2 separate regions of the Homo sapiens genome follow, and region 1 is linked to region 2. Evidence: promoter capture Hi-C in 16 types of primary human blood cells and fetal thymus (Javierre and others, 2016). All regions are on one chromosome and are shown on one strand. The core of a region is centred on a gene start or on the middle of the fragment in contact, and the rest is flanking DNA. Distances in the headings are between cores, read along the strand shown.

What was found. Contacts are between HindIII fragments. The CHiCAGO score rates a contact against its expected background, and 5 or more counts as called.
Region 1: a fragment that was not itself captured here is called in contact with the fragment with the promoter of SLC27A2 in region 2 in 1 of 17 cell types (total CD8 T cells); the score reaches 6.8 in total CD8 T cells.

The regions. Positions count from the first base shown.
Region 1 is chr15:48,829,231-48,832,139 of GRCh38, forward strand. All of the region lies in intron 11 of SHC4 (SHC adaptor protein 4), which reads right to left. Among named protein-coding and RNA genes, the nearest start is that of CEP152, 20 kb to the left of the region's middle. The HindIII fragment of the contact is 182 bases long and covers 1,239-1,420 here.
Region 2 is chr15:50,180,883-50,183,906 of GRCh38, forward strand. It overlaps SLC27A2 (solute carrier family 27 member 2), which reads left to right and starts at 1,314. Exons shown (of 10, transcript NM_003645.4): 1 at 1,314-2,023. The coding sequence starts at 1,546. It also overlaps a transcript of ATP8B4 not described here. RefSeq lists silencers at 1,206-1,545, 1,816-1,915. The HindIII fragment of the contact is 4,085 bases long and covers 648-3,024 here.

The DNA.
Region 1 (2,909 bases), core at 80-2,579, 1.4 Mb before region 2:
TGTATATGTATGTTAGATCCACTTGGTCCATAGTGTTGTTCAAGTTCTTTTTTTCCTCATTGATCTGTCTGGTGTTCTATCCATTATTGAAAGTGGAGCATTAAAATCCCCTACTATTATTGTTTTGCTGTCTATTTCCCCCTTTAGTTCTGTCAATGTTTGCTTCATATATTTGGGTACCCTGATGTGCATATATATTTATAATTATTATATCTTCCTGAAGAATTGATCCTTTTATCATTATATCATGTCCTTCTTTGTCTCTTTTGATATTTTGACTTAAAGTTTATTTTGTCCGATATAAGTATGGCCACTCCTGCCATTTTTTGGTTATCATTTTCATGGAATATCTTTTTCTAAACTTTCACTTTCAACCTACGTGTGTCCTTAAATCTAAAGTGAGTCCTTGCCAGGCGTGGTGGCTCACGCCTATAATCCCAACACTTTGGGAGGCCAAGCAGGTGGATTACCTGAGGTCAGGAGTTTGAGACCAGACTGGCGGACATGGTGAAACCTCGTCTCCACTAAAAATATATAAATTAGCTGGGCATGGTGGCGCACCCCTGTGGTCCCAGCTACTTGGGAGGCTGAGGCAGAAGAATCACTTGAACCCAGGAGGCGGAGGTTGTAGTGAGCTGAGATTGTGCCACTGCACTCCAGCCTGGGCAATAGAGCGAGACTCCGTCTCAAAAAAATAAATAAATAAAATAAAGTGAGTTTCTTATAGATAGCATGTAGTTGGAGCTTGTTTTTTTTTAATCAATTCAGCCACTCTATGCTTTTTGATTACAGAATTTAATATATTTACATTTAAAGTAGTTAATACTAGAGAAGAACTATTACCATTCTATTGTTTTCTGTCTTAAAGCTTTTTTTGGTCCTGTTTCTCCTTTCTTGCTGTCTTCCTTTGTGTTTCATTAATTTTTCATAGTGAATAGGCTTTAATTCCTTTATCATTTTGTTTTGTGTATCTTCTAGAAGTATTTTCTTTGTGATTACCATGGGGCTCGCATAAAACATAGCTATAACAATCTCTTTTAAACTGATAACACCTTAACTTCAATCACATACAAATACTCTACACTGTTATTTCTCCACACACAATTTTATGTTATTGATGTCACCAATTACATTTTTAAATTTTGTGTATTCATTAACATATTTTATAGTTACATAGTTATTGTTGCATAATAACATTTTGGTTAACAACAGACTGCATATACAATGGTGATCCCATAAGCTTATAATGAAGCTGAAAAATTCCTATTGCCTAATGCAATTGTCCTGAAGAATTGACTAATGAGTTGTTGGAACTGAAACAGGAAGGCATAGCTGAAGAGGAGGCAAAAGGAAAGGAAAGTGCAGGCAAAGAAAAAGAAGAAGAACCCCCCAAAAAATTAACAATAAAGAGTTTAGCAGAAGCTTTTTCAGACCTTAACAAGCTTCTTGAAAAGACTAAAAACATGGATCCCCAACACCAAAAGGTTTTCATTAATAGAAAAGAATGCTCATGTTGCATTATCTGCGTACGAGCAAATCTATGATGAAAAAAGAAACAAAGCAAGCAAACCGCCAAGGTCATATTTCTGAAAATAGTGACACTTTCTCAAGAGACTCAAGCAGGTCCTTTAGGAGATATTCTAGAATAAGGCATTGTTATCATAGGAGATGACAACTCCATGCAAGTTATTGCTCCTTAAAGACTGTGGAACAATATGTGGAGATAGAAGACAGTGATATTGATGATCCTGCCCCTGTCTAGTGCTAGCCTAATGTCTGTGTTTCTGTCTCTATTTTTAACAATAACAAAAAAGTTTAAAAGTAAAAAATAGAAATAAAAAATTTTAAAATAGGAAAAACCATATAGAATAAGGATATAAAGAAAGAAGATATTTTTGTACAGCTCTATAACCTATATTTTAAGCTAAGTGTTATTACAAAAAAGTCAAAAGATTAAAATAATTTAAATGTTTACAAAGTAAAAAAATTACAGTAAACTCAAGTTAATTTATTATTGAAGAAAGAAAATTAAAAAAAATAAACTTAGTGTGGTCTAAGTGCATAGTGTTTATAAAGTGTGCAGTAGTGTGCAGTAATGTCCTAGGTCTTTACATTCGCTCACCACTCACTCGCTGGCTCATCTGGAGCAATTTCCAGTCCTGCAAGCTTCATTCACAGTAAATGTTCTACATAGGTGTACCATTTCAAATCTTTTATATCCTATTTCACTGCACCTTTTCTATGTTTACATACACAAATATTTACCATTGTGTTACAATTGTCTACAGTATTCAGTACACTAACGTGCTGTATAGGTTTGCAACCTACAAGCAATAGGTTATACCATATAGCCTAGGTGTGTAGTAGGCTATACTATCTAGGTTTGTGTACATATATTCAAAAATGTTTGCACAATGAAAAAATCATCTAGCAATGTATTTCTCATAACATTTCCCCATTGTTAAGTGATATATGACTTATTTTTCACATTTTTGTCTTTTAACTTCTATAACCAGAATTAAAAGTTATTTACACACTGCCATTATAATATTACAGTATTCTGTGTTTTTCTATATATTTACCTTTACCAGCAAGCTTTGTACTTTCATATGCTTTCATGTTACTGTTTGGTATCCTTTTGTTTCAACTTGAAGGACTTTAGCATTTCTTGAAAGGCAGATCTAGTGCTAACAAACTCCTCATCTTTTGTTTATCTCAGAAAGTCTATATTTCTCTTTCATTTTTAAAGGATGGTTTTGGCCAGGAACGGTGGCTCACGCCTATAATCCCAGCACTTTGGGAGGCCAAGGCAGGTGGATAAACTGAGGTCTGGAGTTCAAGACCAGCCTGGCCAACATGGCAAAACCCTGTCTCTACTTAAAATACAAAAAATTAGCCAGGTGTGGTGG
Region 2 (3,024 bases), core at 64-2,563:
GGAATGTGAAACATTTTTGTGTGTTTTACACACACCGAAAAAAAAAGAGGACATGGACAGAAACCTAGAGAATAGGAGGACAGCATAGTATAGTTACTAAGAATAAGCTAAGAGTTGGTTCCCCGGGACCAAACAGATACCATTTCCAAAACCCACGAATTACTTACCGGCTGTCTCAATTCACCTAAGCTTCCCTTTCTTGTCTGTAAATGAGCATGAAAGTGCCACCTGTATAAAATAACTCAGGCTCCCAAAATGTAACATAGGGAAGCTCCTAGCAGCGTGTCTGGGAGGAATAAGCATTATCTGTATTTATCGTATCAAATTAAGATAGAGGAACACAGGAGGACAGTAGAGGATGAAAATAAAACACTACTTAGATCCTGACCCTCCTCAGTGGCAAGTAGTGAGCATTCACTTCGTACAGAAGTAGCACTAAGGCAAATTAAAAGAAAGGTTCACATTTCCTCTAAAAGAAATGGTTTTTGAGTCATGCCAATACCACTTACTCAATGTCCTCTGTACTATACTATTCTCTGACAGAGCCACTTATTAAATGTGTGAACTGTGCTGACAACACTTGACAACTTTCAACATGAGGGAACAGCAGGATCACTTAACAGAACAAAATCGTAAAATAATGTCAAAGCTTGATTTCAGGTGGTGCGGTGTAGCACTGCTCTTCACGAAATCAGGACTCCCCCGACCAGGCAGGGCCGACTAGGTTAGAGTGTCCTGCCCTCACTCACCTGGCAGGGCTTGGGATGAGCTGGACGTGACTGCCACAGGCATTTCTGTTCAACCTTGAAGCCTTCGCTACAGGAGACCGCCTGGCAGTCGGGCTGGGAAGCAAATCTGAGAAACAAAGAGAGACCAGGCGGAAAGCCCTTGGGACCAGGAAGGAGAGATGAGATTCTGGTTTGGCAGTGGCACCTGGTACCCGCTATTAATAAATAATAGGACTGTCTGACATTTATAAGGCACTTTATCGGTAATAACAGTGTCATCTCCATAAGCCATTCTATTAGTGGTAACAAATAATAGCCCCACGCCTGCAATATCTCCTTTAATATTCCCAACGTCCGCTAAGCGCGTCTCATCACCATTTAAAGAAACCGTGGCTCCTAGAGGTAAAGTACTTCGGTCACAACGCGAGGAGGTCCAGACTTGACCCCAGACCTCCAGACTCGAGCTGGGAAGTGGCCGAGGCTCCTGGTGAGCCGCAGGGCAGCCTGCCCAGCCCCGGGAGGACCGCGTGGGAGGGCCGGGAGAGCAGGTGGCTGCCCCCCACAAGGGGGCGGGCTCAGCCGGCCAGTCCTGCCCGGAACCCCCGGCAACGCGCATACGACTACACCTGCTCCGGAGCCCGCGGCGGTACCTGCAGCGGAGGAGCTCTGTCTTCCCCTTCATCTCACGCGAGCCCGGCGTCCCGCCGCGTGCGCCCCGGCGCAGCCCGCCAGTCCGCCCGGAGCCCGCCCAGTCGCCGCGCTGCACGCCCGGGGTGAACCCTCTGCCCTCGCTGGGACAGAGGGCCCCGCAGCCGTCATGCTTTCCGCCATCTACACAGTCCTGGCGGGACTGCTGTTCCTGCCGCTCCTGGTGAACCTCTGCTGCCCATACTTCTTCCAGGACATAGGCTACTTCTTGAAGGTGGCCGCCGTGGGCCGGAGGGTGCGCAGCTACGGGAAGCGGCGGCCGGCGCGCACCATCCTGCGGGCGTTCCTGGAGAAAGCGCGCCAGACGCCACACAAGCCTTTTCTGCTCTTCCGCGACGAGACTCTCACCTACGCGCAGGTGGACCGGCGCAGCAATCAAGTGGCCCGGGCGCTGCACGACCACCTCGGCCTGCGCCAGGGAGACTGCGTGGCGCTCCTTATGGGTAACGAGCCGGCCTACGTGTGGCTGTGGCTGGGGCTGGTGAAGCTGGGCTGTGCCATGGCGTGCCTCAATTACAACATCCGCGCGAAGTCCCTGCTGCACTGCTTCCAGTGCTGCGGGGCGAAGGTGCTGCTGGTGTCGCCAGGTGAGCCCCGAGGATCGCCCTGCCCTGGCACCAGGGCTTCTCGGCGCCTTGACTGACGAGCCACAGCGTGGCATAAGGGGTTCGCAGAGGGAGGTTCAGATCGGAACTGTAGGTATAGAAAAAGGTTGGCAGTGTTTCCTTGAATCGCAAATAATGATCTTTTAGGACCACCTGTTGTGGAAGCTGATAATGTGCTAGGTTCTGTGTTAAGCACTCTACAGGCAGTGTGGTTTTTAATCCTCACAATGGGTAGGCTTTGTTATAGGACTTTTATAGATGAGACCACTGAGGTCCTGAGAGGTGAAGCCTCATGCCCAGCCATCTATCTCCAAATTCCAAGCTCTTAATCAATACTTATAACATCTGCATTAAAATGCAGAGGATCTTGAGTGCGAACTCTAGTGGATCCAGAGGGGCTCTTCTCACCTCTGCTGCTTGACTGGCTGTGTGATCATGGGAAAGTCACTTCTCCTCTCTGTCCCTTGGTTTGCTCCTCTCTAATGAGGCAGGCTTCAATGTTGCTTCCAGCTCTCAACTGCTGTTAGCATCCTGTCCCCTCCCTGCAGAACAAAGGTGACCCCACCTGATCCCCAGGGAGAAGATACTGGGGATCTGCTACAGGACCGTTGTGAGCCCCCACTGCATCTATCACAATAGTGACCCTTTCAGTTCTGTGGTTAGCTCCTGCCACATTTCAGCCAGACTTGAAACAGTAACTTAAGTGATGACAAGGTCAGGAAGTGACAGAGAACCTGTTACTCACAGGGCTGATGGCTTTCCCCTCCCAGAGAGCTTGTCTCTGCACTTGAATAAGGACCAAGGGTTCCTTCTCTCAGTCAGTAAGAAGAGGCCTACACAGGAGTGGGCTGAAAGACCTGGGTGACAGGGTAGGGGTCGAGGGAGCCGAGGAGCCTCAGCTTTCTAGAATGCATTTCTGTGCTAAGCCCTATAGTAGATGCTTTTATTACCCCGGGAGATAACATATCACTATCCCCACCACC